Regions from separate parts of the Homo sapiens genome. Here region 1 is linked to region 2. Evidence: promoter capture Hi-C in human tissues and cell types (Jung and others, 2019). All regions are on one chromosome and are shown on one strand. Each heading gives the region's core, a stretch centred on a gene start or on the middle of the fragment in contact. The rest is flanking DNA. Distances are from core to core; before and after follow the strand shown.

Region 1 (6,868 bases), core at 3,290-5,789, 540 kb before region 2:
GGATGGAAGCCAGGTTTCAGCTGAGCAGGTGGCGGTGGCATTGATGGAGATGAGGACATGGGGAAGGACAAAGTCCAGGTGTCCTTGAGGGAAGACAAGAAGACAAATAATCCAGGCTCTCTGTCCTCACACCAGCTGCCCGCCCCTTTCTTCCTGGCACAGTCATGTTGGAACCAGCTGCTGAGACCATTCCTCAGACCCAAGAGATCATCAGTGTCACGCTGCAGGTGCTTAGTCTCTTGCCGCCGTACAGACAGTCCATCTCTGTTCTGGCCGGGTCCACCGTGGAAGATGTCCTGAAGAAGGCCCATGAGTTAGGAGGATTCACGTGAGACTCCCACCTCCCAGTCCTCACCCCACCCAACCTCACATGCCTGATAACAGGGTCACAGAAGAGACGGGGAACAGAGGAGAGGGTTCCCTCGGGAGAGACACTGGCCCTGCTTCTGCTTCTACCTGCTCAGCTCCTTTCTTGCCCACGGTGTTATGGAAACAGGGAGCCATAGGCCAGCATTGTCACTGAGAGAGCAGGCTTTGGAGGCAGAGCCCCCCAGTTGGAATCCCAACTCTAACCAGCTAGGTTCCAGGTAGGCACCCACAATTCACCGAGGAGAACAGTTGTGCCCCTTCCCTGCAGGGCCAGTGTGAAGAGTCCAGGAGTTAGTACACATAGAGATAGTGGCATGTGCTTTTTATATGTGCAAGGTCCAGCACATAGCAAGCGCTCAACACAGCGTTGCTTTCATCAGAGTAAGAACTGTTTTTTGTTTGTTTGTTTGTTTGTTTTTAAGAGACAGGGTCTCAATCTTATCACCCAGGCTGGAGTGTAATTGTGCAATCACGTCTCACTGCAGTCTCGAACTCTGGGGATGAAGCAACCCTACTGTCCTGCCTCAGCCTCCCAAATAGCTGAGACTATAGGCACGTGCCACACAACCCTGGGTAATTTTTTTTTTTTTTTTTTTTGAGATAGGGTCTCTGTCTGTTGCCCAGGCTGGTCTCAAATTCCTGGCCTCAAACCATCCTCACACCTGAGGCGCTCAAAATATTGGGATTATAGGTGCGAGCCATCATGCTCAGCCAGAATAATAACTGGTTTTTTTTGTTTTTTTTTTTGAGACAGAGTCTCACTCTATTACCCAGGCTCTGGAGGCCCAACTCGTGTTTGTGTATTTGTTTATTTTTATTTATTTATTTATTTCGAGACAGAGCCTCTCTCTTTCACCTAGGCTGGAGTGCAGTGGCGCAATCTCGGCTCACTGCAACCTCCGTCTCCTGGGTTCAAGTGATTGTCCTGCCTCAGCCTCCTGAGTAGCTGGCGCTACAGGCGCGTGCCACCATGCCCAGCTAATTTTTGTATTTTTAGTAGAGACAGGGTTTTACTATGTTGGCCAGCTGGTTTCTAACTCCTGAACTCGGGTGATCTGCCTGCCTCGGCCTCCCAAAGTGCTGGGATTACAGGCATGGGCCTCCGTGCCCGGCCATGTATTTATTTAGGCAAGGTCTCTCTCTGTTATCCAGGCTGAAGTGCAGTGGCACATTCATAGCTCACTGCAGCCTCAAATTATCCAAGTAACAGGGACTACAGGCATGCACCACCACACCCATCTACTTTTTTTTGAGATGGAGTCTCCCTCTGTCGCCCAGACTGGGTTGCAGTGGCACAATTTCAGCTCATGGCAGCATCTACCTCCCAGGTTCAAGCGATTCTCCTTCCTCAGTCTCCCGAGTAGCTGGGACTATGGGCATGCACCACCATACCTGGCTAATGTTTATATTTTGAGTAGAGATGGAATTTTGCCATTTTGGCCAGGCTGGTCTTGAGCTCTTGACCTCAAGTGATATGTCTGCCTCAGCCTCCCAAAGTGCCGGGATTACAGGCATGAGCCACTATGCCTGGCCCAGAATAAGAACTTTTATTTTATTTGAGACAGGGTCTTACTCTGTCACCTAGGCTAGAGTGCAGTGGCACAATCACAGCTCACTGTAGCCTCAATCTTCCGGGCTCTGATCCTCCCACCTTAGCCTCCCAGGTAGCTGGGAACAACAGGCATGCGCCACCACGCTTGGCAAATATTTTTTTAAAATTTTTTGTAGACATGGGATTGCTTCATGTTGCCCAGACTGGTCTCAAACTCCTGGACTCAAGCGATCTACCCACCTTGGCCTCCCAAAGTGCTGAGATAACAGGCGTGAGCCGCCGTGGCTGGCCAGAATAAGAACTTTTATTATGAAATAAGTTTGGCCCTATCCTGTTATTAATTACCTCAAAGAGGTTGGACAATGTCCTTACACTTGCTTCTCACCCTGAGCTTAGAATAGTTTGAGAATGAGCATGTCTGGACTGTTGTTTGACAGGTCCTGTCCATGATGAAATAAGATGAATGTAATTCTCATGTTATCAGTGGGGAGTCCAGCCCAGAGAAGTTGAATGCCTTCCACCAGGTCACGCACACCACAGACTTCTCCCCTAGAATCATGGGCCTATCTCTGTCCCCAGTGGGAGTTCCTGGAAAACAGCATCCTGCATCCAGGGAGGGCCCACAGTTGGTTCCTTCGGGTCCTCTAGGCTAGAGAATCTCAGACCGGAGAAATGCAAAGACTCCTCTGAAGTACAAACATTCTCCCAGACCCCAGGTTAAGTTATTTCTTCTATAATATCACTTAGATGTGTACTGATAATTTTATTAAATATAAAGTCTTTGGCCAGAGCTGGTGGCTCACTCCTGTAATTCCAGTGATTTGGGAGGCTGAGGCAGGAGGATCACTTGAGCCTAGGAGTTTGAGACCAGCCTGGGCAACATAGTGAGACTGCCATCTCTTCAAAAAAATTTTTTTAATTAGCTGGGCATGATGGTGTGCACCTATAATCCTAGCTACCCAGAAGGCTGAGGTGGGAGGACTGCTTGAGCCCAGGAGTTCAAGGCGGCAGCAAGCTATGATGACGTCACTGTCCTGTAGCCTGGATGACAAAACTTTTTTTTTTTTTTTAAAAGACAAAGGGCTGAGTGTGATGGCTAACACCTGTAATCCCAGCACTTTGGGAGGCCAAGGTGGGCAGATTACTTGAGGCCAGGAGTTCAAAACCAGCCGGGCCAACGTGGCGAAAGCCCGTCTCTACCACACACAAAAAAAGTCCTTTCTCTTTCTAGCTCTAGACAGCTATAAATCCCCAACAACTTTATAAATTAAATAGAAAAGTATAAAAACCAATACCATTCAAATAAGGATGCTCTGCGGAGGTGCTGGCCTGCACTTTAGCACCTCCCTGTATTCAAGCTGCAGTGAAGCCTGGGCACTCCTGGCCTGGCTCAGCCACTTCATTCACTATGAGGGCCACCTCCGTTTCCTTCCTGTGGCCTATGGCACATAACGCAATGCTGCTGGGCACCAGCGCAGTCACTGATGGCCACGCATAGGCTGAGTGCCCTTGGGAGGGCTCAGACCCACAGACTGAGATTACCCAGAACCAGCTGGTATTCATGTTTGAATATTGTCATCAAAATGAAAGACAATTAGAATTTAACGTTTTTATTCAGAGCTCGGGGATCTCTGGGAAGACACTGTGGACTCCAGTCTGAGAAATGGTTCTCTTGTTAGTGTGCATGGATGCCTCAACTGGGTTCAGGCATGAAGACTATGTTTGAGGCCCCTGAATGCACAGCAGAGAAAGCTCAACTGCAGACACAGATAGACAGATGTGGAGAGAGGTAGCCCTGTGCAGCCACATGGCCCTGCAGAGTTAAGGAATGGGAAAAGGGCTACTCTGTGACATTCCTTAGAACAGTAGTTTCCCTTCGCTAAAGTCACCCCAAATAGGGTGGTGGTTGTTGTTGTTGTTTTGAGACGGAGTTGCATTCAGTCGCCCAGGCTGGAGTGCAGTGGCACGATCTCGGCTCACTGCAACCTCCACCTCCTGGGTTCAAGCGATTCTCCTGCCTCAGCCTCCTGAGCAGCTGGGATTACAGGGGCCCACCATCACACCTGGCTAGTTTTTGTATTTTTAGTAGAAATAGGGTTTCACCATGTGAGCCAGGCTGGTGTCAAACTCCCAACCTCAGGTGATCCACCCACCTCCGCCTCCTCAAGTGCTGGGATTACAGATGTGACCCACCGCGCCCCACCTGTGTTTCTTAAAACCAAAAAAATCCCTCTAAGACTGCAACCATCGATAACTTAGGGCTGTATTACCCCAGAGAGCACTTTGTAGAAGATGCGTTTGTTCACATCACTTCCCTGTTACTTTGACGGTCTCACCTCCTTTTCAGTCATTTGCATTCTCCCAGAACCTGCTCATTTGTTGTTTTTTGTTTGTTTGCTTGGTTTTGTTTTTGAGAAGCAGTCTTGCTCTGTTACCCAGGCTGGAGTGCAGTGGTGCGACCTCAGGTCACTGCAACCTCCGCCTACTAGGTTCAAGTGATTCTCCTGCCTCAGTCTCCTGAATAGCTGGGATTACAGGTGTGCACCACCATGCCCAGCCTAATTTTTGTATTATTAGTAGAGATGGGGTTTCACCATGTTGTCCAGGCTGGTCATGAACTCCTGACCTCAAGTGATCCACCCGCTTTGGCCTCCCAAAGTGCTGGGATTACAAGCATGAGCCACAGTGCCTGGCCTGACCCTGCTCTTTTGAAAGACCATTCCCCCAAATTCTGTGCACCTGTGTGCCTTTCTTCTCTCTGCCTCCTCTCAGCTCTGCCCCGCTCTCCTCCCTTCTCCTCTGGCAAATCCCACTCATCTCTTGAAGCCCTTCTTCCAGGGGAAGCCCTGATCATGCTGCTTTCTCCTGTGGGAGGGATGAAGGACGTGGCCCACGGAGTTTGTTTTGTTTTGTTTTGAGATGGAGTTTTGCTCATGTTGCCCAGGCTGGGGTACAATGGTACGATCTCAGCTCACTGCAACCTCTACGTCCCGGGTTCAAGCGGTTCTCCTGCCTTAGCCTCCCCAGTAGCTGGGATTACTGGCATGAACCACCACACCTGGCTAATTTTGTGTTTTTAGTAGAGATGGGGTTTCTTCATGTTGGTCAGGCTGGTCTCGAACTCCCAACCTCAGGTGATCTGCCTGCCTTGGCCTCCCAAAGTACTGGGATTACAGGGTTGAGCCACTGTGCCTGGCCCAGGCCCACGGAGTTTTAAGAGGCTTCCTGTGGCAGTGGCATCCAGACGGAGTGCAGAAACTCAAAGTTGAAGGCCAGAAGCTCAGGGAAGGGGGAGTGTGAGTTGAGGAGTCTCTTGGCTGCCAGGGCCAGAAACCGAACTCCAAGCCTCTCCACAACAGCGGGTGTAGAGCATGTAGAATCAGAGAGGAGGCTGAGCCATGCAGCCCCGAGAAGAGGGGAATGCCACTGAGCCACAGAGACCCAGTGCCACTGCCAGGTGTCTCTGCCTCCACTTCCCATGACCCTGCCTGTCTCTGTATGCAGGCTTCACCCTCTCTCGTTGTACATTGTACACATTCTAGGTGACACCAGCAGCTTCTGATTCTCATCCCCCATAACATCAGCCCCCCAGAGAGGGGACAACTGCTGAGCTGATAACATAATAGATGCCCCTTTCCTGGAGGCCATGGTCATGGTCAGCGTGGAGAGGATGAAGCCTGAGCAGGCAGGATCGGGGGTCTGGAGGGGAAGGAGGTGGAAGTTGAGATCACAGACCTGTGGCCAGGTGGCCTGGGAAGGGTTTGACGAGTGTCGGCCCAAAGAGCTTGGAAGGGATTTTGCTGCTGTGGGTGAGCACTGCCTCTCCCCTTAGGGACAACAGCCACCTCTTCTCTCCCCATTTGCCTTTCCCTTCTGTAGATATGAAACACAGGCCTCCTTGTCAGGCCCCTACTTAACCTCCGTGATGGGGAAAGCGGCCGGAGAAAGGGAGTTCTGGCAGCTTCTCCGAGACCCCAACACCCCACTGTTGCAAGGTGAGTCATGGCCTGACACTCTGGATGTGTCCCCTACCCCAAGCTTACTCAGCCAAGAGGCTTCATCAACTCACCCCAGCTTTCCCTAGCACCCTCCTGGGCCACACCTTCACAAAATCACTGATGCTCAAAGTTGGATATAATATATTGAACTGAAGCCTTAGAATTTTTATGCAAGTTACTGTGGAAATTCTAGGAAACCAGACAGATTACAAAAAAAAAAAAAAACTAGAAGAAAATTAACATCACCTAGGATATACTACCTAGGAATAACGTCTTTTATTTTGAGATGGAGTTTCGCTCTTGTTGCCCAGGCTGGAGTGCAGCGGTATGATCTCGGCTCGCTGCAACCTCCGCCTCCTGGGTTCATGTGATTCTTCCACCTCAGCCTTCCTAGAGCCCAAGTGGTCTGCCTGCCTCTGCCTCCCAAAGTTCTGGGATTACAGGCATGAGCCACCGCACCCAGCCAAAATTACTTAACTTTTCTTCTAGATACTTTTTAAAAATATGGCAGTAAGTTTTTCATAAAAAATGGAGCCATGCTATCCAGTGGAAATTTAATGTTGCCCACATGTATAACTTAAAAATTTCATATATGTGTATACATATATATGAAATATATATATATACAGACACACATATATATGTATACATATATATACACACATATATATGTATATATATATACACACATATATATGTATACATATATACACACATACACATATATACACACACATACACACACATATACACACACATACATACACATACATACACACATATATACACACATATATACACACATATATATGTATACATATATATACACACATATATATGTATACATATATACACACACACATATGTATACATATATACACACACATATATATGTATACATATATACACACATATATATGTATACATATATACACACATATATATGTAT
Region 2 (7,697 bases), core at 2,923-5,422:
GTGGAAAGGGTCTCATTCCTGGAGGGGGCATGCCTACTGGCGTCCCTCTAGCAAGGGGAAGCCCAATTGGTGGGCCCATGGGTGGTTTCATACCAGGTGGAGGAAACATAATGCCTAGAGGTGGGGCTGCTCTGCCAACAGGTGGGGGTGGAGCCCCCGGTCCTGGTGGGTACTGTGTTGGGGCTCCAGTAATGCTCTTCTCTGTGGAGTCATTACCTGCTGGGATGGTCCCCCAACTCCTGGGACGGGGCCTGCTAATCCACCAGGAGCCTGGGGAATTGGTACACCAGCTGATACTCCTCTACCAGCTGCCCTAACAACTCCAGGGCCTCCTGCAGCTCCAGCAAGTGGTACCCGAGCAATGCCAGTATATTTTGGGGGTAGCCCCTCCACAGTCATGGATACCAAGTTCTCCCCATGCAGCAACACCAGACCCCAAAAGTGCTTTTCTTCGAGCTCTGGTTGCTTCACGTTCTTTGGCTTGATCTTTCTGAACTCATCACAATCGCAGAGGATCAAATTCACATGCTTGTCAAACGCCTTAAAGATGCCAAAGAAGATTGTGCCTTCCTGTAGGATGCATTTCATTCTATAGTCAATGTGCTGCTGCAGCCTTGCTACTCGTGCCCACAGTCGTGATTGCTGCTTCACCAAATCCCGTGTCCACAGTTAAAACTTCGTGCTTCTTAAGACCTGGGGGAAAGCTATAGATAAAGGTATGGTGCAGGTTCTCCCAGAAACAATGCAAGCTGAGGGGGAAACGTGGTGGCTCACGCCTGTAATCCCAACACTTTGGGAGGCTGAGGAGGGCAAATCACCTGAAGTCAGGAGTTCGAGAGCAGCCTGGCCAACATGGTGAAATCCCATCTCTACTAAAAATACAAAAATTAGCTGGGTGGTAGTGGCATGCACCTGTAATCCCAGATACTCAGGAGGCTGAGACAGGAGAATCGCTTGAGCTAGGGAGGCGGAGGTTGAGGTGAGTCAAGATGGCATCACTGTACTCCAATCTGAGTGACAGAGTGAGGTGCTGTCTCAAAAATATATGTATAATTTTTAAAAGTATATTGAAAGCATTGGGTGAGGTGGCTCATGCCTGTAATCCCAACACTTTGGGAGACCAAACTGGGAGGATCCCTTGAGGCCAGGAGTTTGAGACCAGCTTGGGCAACAGCAGGACCCTGTCTCTACAGAAAAATAAAAAATATTAGCTGGGTGTGGTGCGTGCCTGTAGTCACAGTTATTCAGGAGACTGAGGTGGGAGGATCACTTGAGCCCAGGAGTTGAAGCCTGCAGTGAGTTAGGATGGTGTGCCACTGCACTCCAGTCTGGACCACAGGCTGAGACCATGTTTTTTTAAAAAAATAAAAAATAGATAATGGATCGATTGATAGAGAAAGCTCACTCTGTGATGAACCTGTTCCGAGTATCCTCATAACAACTTTTTGAGGAAGGAAGAAATTGGAACACACCTGTGGTTAAACAAGTTGAGTTTATCACTTGTTATGGGGTAAGGGTGAGAGGACATGAATCATGAGAAACAATAGGGCAGCTGGGCTTGGTGGTTCACATCTGTAATCCCAGCACTGTAGAAGCCCAAGGTGGGAGGAACACCTTAGGTCAGGAGTTCGAGACCAGCCTGGCCAACATGGTGAAACCCTGTCCCTACTAAAAATACAAAAATTAGCCGGGAGTGATGGTGGGCGCCTGTAATCCCAGCTACTTGGGAGGCTGAGGCAGAAGAATCACTTGAACCCAGGAGGCAGAGGCTGCAGTGAGCCGAGATCACACCACTGCACTCCAGCCTGAGTGATAGAGTGATACTCTGTCTCAAAAACAAACAAACAAACAAACAAACAAACAAAGGGGCATCTCAGTAACAAAGTGTTACAAAGGACACATAGGATTTGGGCTTGCATTAGGTGATTTGGACGAGGGCTTAAGAAAATGGGGTTTTCTGGATTGGATGCTGCCTATGAGTGAGTACCTTGATAAACATTATTTAGAAGGAGGGAAGAGTAGACCGAGGCTAAATCTATAATCTCTATACAAGCCAGAATAGGGAAATGTTTGGCCATTTTTGTAGTTCGAACAATGCTCATGTTTTGTCTGGGTTTAGACATGATTCAAGTGGTTTTGTTATTGTCTTGATCCATCATGGTCACATAGTGGCTTTGTTTGATGTTGATGTTCTGTGAAGTTTTTATGTTCAATAAGAGAACACACCAAGGTCTATTTGTGAGTGCCAGACCATCTCCTGGATGTCAGGGGCTGTTTTTCTCTTAGCGCTTGGTTTCAAATCCAGGTTTGTGTGACTGGAAACATCCCTTGTATTACTTCTTGATCACAGGAACTTGCAAAGGTGGCTGGCAGACTAGGACTTTCATCTATGAGCTTATTTCATCTACTATTTTTTATTTTTTTTTCTGAGATGGAGTTTCACTCTTGTCGCCCAGGCTGGAGTGCAATGGCACGATCTTGGCTCACTATAACCTCTGTCTCCTGGGTTCAGGCAATTCTCCAGCCTCAGCCTCCCAAGTAGCCGGGATTACAGGTGCCCGCCACCACGCCTGGCTAATTTTTGTATTTTTAGTAGAGATGAGTTTCACCATGTTGGCCAGGCTGGTCTCGAACTCCTAACCTCAGGTGATCTGCCTGCCTCGACCTCCCAAAGTGCTGGTATTATAGGCGTGAGCCACCGCGCCGGCCTTTATCTACTATGTTCACCTCCTACTCAGGTCCGATCCCTAACCGTTCCTGGGATAACTGTAGGTACTTAATAAATGCTTGTTGAATGAATGAAGATGGCTGTCAAGAACTCCAATGACTGCTTGAGTGCAAATCACAAGCTCCATCACCTATCAGTATGTGATTTGATACAATATGTATTAACAGCTAATCCACAATCCATATTCAAATTTCATTACTTGTCCCAATATTGTCCATTACAACTATTCCACCACCACCACTACCCCAGTCCAGGGTCCTATTTAGAATCACACACCACATTTTGTTGTCATGCTTCTTTAGTCTCCTTTAAACTGGAACAGTTCCTCAGCTTTTCTCTGTTTTTCATGACAATGAGTTATTTTGTAGACAGTGTCCTTCATTTGGGGTTCTCTAGCACTTCCTCATGAGATGTGTACGGTGCACTTTTGACAGAAATACCACAGATGTGTTCTCAGTGCATTTTATTAGGAGGCCCTTGATCTGACCCATTAACTAGTGGTGTTAACTTTGATCACTTTGATCTGTTTGTTCTGCTAGGTTAAACCTCTGTAACATCACCATTTTCCCTTTGTAATCAATAGCTAATTTATGGGAGACACTTTTGCTGTTGTAAACATCCCGTTTCTCTAGTTTTACCACACATTATTGATTTCCTAATTCCACCATGTTTATTAGCTAGCATTCTACTAAAAGGAAGACTTTCCCTTCACCCATTAATATGCTCACTTCTTTATGTTTGTAAAGACTCATGGATTACTATTTTATTCAATTAGTTATACTCTATTACTATCACTCCATATTTTGATTCTGAAATTGCCCTGACTTGGCCAGTAAGATCTCCTTAAAGACAGCTCCTGTGTTCTTTGACACATTCCCATGATTCTTATTACCATCATCCTTATATTCTGGTGTAACAAGATGTTCCAAGTTTATCTGGTACTTTCCGGAATGAGTTAGTTCTTTCTCTCTCTCTTTTTTTTTTTTTTTTTTGACGGAGTCTCACTCTGACGCCCAGGCTAGAGTGCAGTGGTGCGATCTCAGCTCACTGCAACCTCCGCCTCCCGGGTTCAAGCGATTATCCTGCCTCAGCCTCCCGAGTAGCTGGGATTACAGGTGTGCGCCACCACGACCGGCTACTTTTTGTATTTTGAGTACAGAGGGGTTTCACCATTTTGGCCAGGCTGGTCTCGAACTCCTGACCTCAAGTGATCCATCCGCCGCGGCCTCCCAAACTGCTGGAATTACAGGTGGGAGCCACCGCGCCCGGCCGGAATCAGTTTTTTTCTTTTAGGAGCCCCGAACCCAAAGCTCTTTGAAAAGCTGCCGAAGCTCCAAGGTTCCTCCGCTTCCTGCCCGCAGGCGGAACCTTAGAGCTTCAGCCATGGAAATTAACCTCTTCCGGTTGGGGCCGGAAGTCCCTCCGAGAGGGGCGGCTCCGCGTCATGTGACTGGAGTCCGCGTAGGAGGGGTCGGAGGTCTTACCCAACAGATTGACGCGGCGTTAGTATTGGCCGTGTACCCGAAAAACTGATTGACTGGGCTGGCGTTAACTGTGCGGAGGCAGGTATGTGAGGGGCTGGGGTTGGGGCGGGGGCGCCAAAGTTTAGGGACGGGGGCGGGAGACCCGGGTCCGCCTTCCCAGGACACACGGGCTTGAACATCTGAGCCCAGGGGCCCAGAGACAGCAAGACCGGTCGTGTCTGTCCCCGAAAAGAGGACGAGCTGGCGTTGTGGTTCTGCGTCCCATGAATACAGATTGGGGAAACTGAGGCCTTGCGAAAGAGAAGGGCTCCCACAAGCTCTCCTTTCGAGGCATGGGCACTGATTCCCATTCTATCCCCCGTGCGAGACCGCCTCTATCATCTGGGAGTGCATTTCACGAGTTTGCCCTGAGTGGAGAAGCAGAGGCCGGGGAGCGCGGTGAACAGAGTTGGGCTGAAAGTAAGAGACCTGGATTCGAGACTTCGCCACCGACAGACAATTGTGCGTTCTGGGCCAAATCTCTTCCCTGTGCTGGGCCTCAGTTTTCTCGTCTCTAAAACGGGGCAGTGTTTTTCAAAATATGGTTCTTACACCATCTGCTTTGTAATTCTCTGAGATGCCGGCTTTACAGCGCGGGACTCAATTCAGACTTCTGGTTTAGAATCTGAACTTATGCGTAGGGGGGTCCTGTATATACTAATGTTTGAAGCTCATTGATTTTAAGTGCTTTCCTGCTGTGAGCACTAGATATCCATTCTTCGCTTTGAGGCAGCTGGTGCCAGTTCAGGAACTTTGAAAGAACTGGAATGGTTAGCTCAGTAAAGAGAGCACTGGAAGGGAATTAACTTTTTAAAAATTGAAAATACTGTTACGGCAAAGAGGGCTTCCACTTCATCTTTAGGCTAAAAGAGGCAGAACTAGGACTAACAGGTGAATTCTACAGGAAGGCAAGATTTTTGCTTAATAGAAGAACTTAAATGGAAGAATCGTCAGAGGTGACCACCGATGGAGTGAATGGATTGCCTCCGTGCCTCCTTTCGAGGGAGGTATATAGGTATTAGATGAAGGTCCTTTCCAACTTGAAAGTCTGTGATTCCAAGGAGTTGTTCTGCATCTTTCTGGTGCTGACTCTGCTCTCAAGGCAAATGTGACTTTTTTCTTCTCTTTTGACACTTCCATCACTTTAGCCTACATCTCCTGTAAATAAGGCCAATGCATCTGACCTTACATAATCTCTTCCTGGTTGTCCTGTGCACCATCCTTCTTTTCAAGGACTTTGGAATGACCCAATATCTGATAGAGGCACCTTAAATGTTTATTGAATGAATAAGTAAACTGGGTCCCACCCCATGGGTTAGTAGCTTTTTTCTAAGAACAAGTTGGAAATGCCTCTGAAGATTTTATGTTTGACCAGGAGAAGCCAGTGAACTCTGAATCACAAAATTGAGGACTCTCAGTTGAAAGCACCCCTTGAGGTTGTTCAGACCAGCCTTCTCTTCCCTGGAACATAATCCCTGCTTGAATCCTCTCTTCAGCAATATGTGTATAGATGTGAGAGAATTTTTGCAGTCTGTTGGCTAGCTTTCCATGCATCATATAAAAACAGTCCTCTTATAGACTTGACTTGCCAGTTCACACACATGACAAGTTCCAGCTTTTTTTTTTTTTTTTTTGAGTATTTAGTAGAGATGGGGTTTCACCATGTTGGCCAGGCTGGTCTCGAACTCCTGACCTCAAGTGATCCGCCTGCCTCAGCCTCCCAAAGTGCTGGGATTTCAGGTGTAAGCCACTGTGCCTGGCCTCTAGCATACCTTTGGTTTTCTAATCAAACATTATTATGTCCTTATTTTGTGCATTACAAAGCTCTGCCTAAATCACTTTTTCAACACCTGCTAGAATGCTTAGGAATGTTTATGTTGTCTTAGGGAGCAGAGGCTCCATATTATGACCCAGTTCTGCTGACTTGCTCCCCCGCCGCCACAAAAGTTAGGGTTGAGCCAAAACTTCCTGCCAGTTATCGACTTGTGTTTCCCAAGATTAAAAAATAAAAAAGTTGTGAAATGCTTATTCAGATGTTATCCAGGTACTGGGTAAAATGATCTTAATTTGTTGGAGTTTTTAGAACTTCTCGATCTAAAAGTTTCCTTTTAAAGAAGTGTCTGAATTGACATTCTCATAAGTATGTTCTTCAGGCCACTGGTCTGAAGAAGTGGCTCTGAAAAAAGGATTTGATGCTAATAATAAGTTTGAGAAAGCCACATACCATTATTCTTTCTTGGAGCTTCTCAATGTGTAATACCACATTAAAACCACTGAGAGGTCCTGCAATAAGGAAATGTGCCTTATAAGCCAAGATAATAACTTGTTCCATTTGTTTAATCTACTTGATGTCAAATCTTTTTTTTTTTTTTAATTGAAGCACACGTTAGCAAATTCTGACCTAGAGTGGGGATCTGCATACTATATATAGGCTGTGAACCAAACCTGGACCTACTGCTTGTTTATATGGTCTGTGAGCTAAGGGTGCTTTTTACATTTTTCTTTCTTTTTTTTTTTTTTTTAAGACGGAGTCTCGCTCTGTTGCCCAGGCTGGAATGCAGTGGCTCCATCTCAGCTCACTGCAAGCTCCGCCTCCTGGGTTCATGCCATTCTCCTGCCTCAGCCTCCCGAATAGCTGGGACTACAGGCGCCCACCCCGATGACTGGCTAATTTTTTGTATTTTTAGTAGAGGTAGGGTTTCACTGTGTTAGCCAGGATGGTCTTGATCTCCTGACCTCGTGATCTGCCCGCCTCAGCCTCCCAAGGTGCTGGGATTACAGGCGTGAGCCACCACGTCTGGCCTGCTTTTTACATTTTTAAATGATGGGAAATAAAAGAAGAATAATATTACATAGGTGACAATTACAGGAAGATAAAATTTCAGTGTTCATTTCAGTCACACCCATTTATTTATATTCATATATATTTACATATTGTCTTTGGGTGCTTTAATGCTACTCAGTGGAGTTGATTACTTCCCATAAAAACCATATGGTCCACAGAGTCTGAAGTATTTACTCTATGGCCCTTTATGGAAAAAAAATTGCCAATTCCTGACCTGCATCGTGTACATTTTTTTTTTTTGAGACAGTGACTCGCTCTGTTGCCCAGGCTGGAGTGCAGTGGCACGAACATAGCCTACTACAGCCTTGACCTCCTGGGCTGAAGCCATCTTCCCACCTCAGCCACCCGAGTAGTTGGGACTACGGGCACACACCACCACACCCAGCTAACTTTTAGGTTTCTTGTAGAGATGAGGTCTCACTATGTTGCCCAGGCTGGTCTCAAATCTCCGAGCTCAAATGATTCTCCTGCCTCAGCCTCTCAAAGTGCTAGGATTACAGGTATGAGCCACCACTCCCAGCCATGTATTGTTTTTTAACTTTTTATTTTATTTTATTTATTTATTTATTTATTTATTTATTTATTTGAAACGGAGTCTCAC

The links. Contacts are between HindIII fragments. The study calls those that stand out against the background at their distance.
Region 1: a contact is called between a fragment that was not itself captured here and the fragment with the promoter of RNF185 in region 2, in 1 of the 25 tissues and cell types used here (spleen).

The regions. Positions count from the first base shown.
Region 1 is chr22:30,617,168-30,624,035 of GRCh38, forward strand. TCN2 (transcobalamin 2) reads left to right here. Exons shown (of 9, transcript NM_000355.4): 7 at 163-328; 8 at 5,801-5,916. Among named protein-coding and RNA genes, the nearest start is that of TCN2, 13 kb to the left of the region's middle. The HindIII fragment of the contact is 9,250 bases long and covers 1-6,868 here.
Region 2 is chr22:31,156,010-31,163,706 of GRCh38, forward strand. RNF185 (ring finger protein 185) reads left to right here and starts at 4,173. Exons shown (of 7, transcript NM_152267.4): 1 at 4,173-4,294. It overlaps MIR3928 (microRNA 3928), which reads right to left and starts at 4,110; the gene lies at 4,053-4,110. It also overlaps the pseudogene SNRPNP2. RefSeq lists a silencer at 1-228. The HindIII fragment of the contact is 14,525 bases long and covers 1-7,697 here.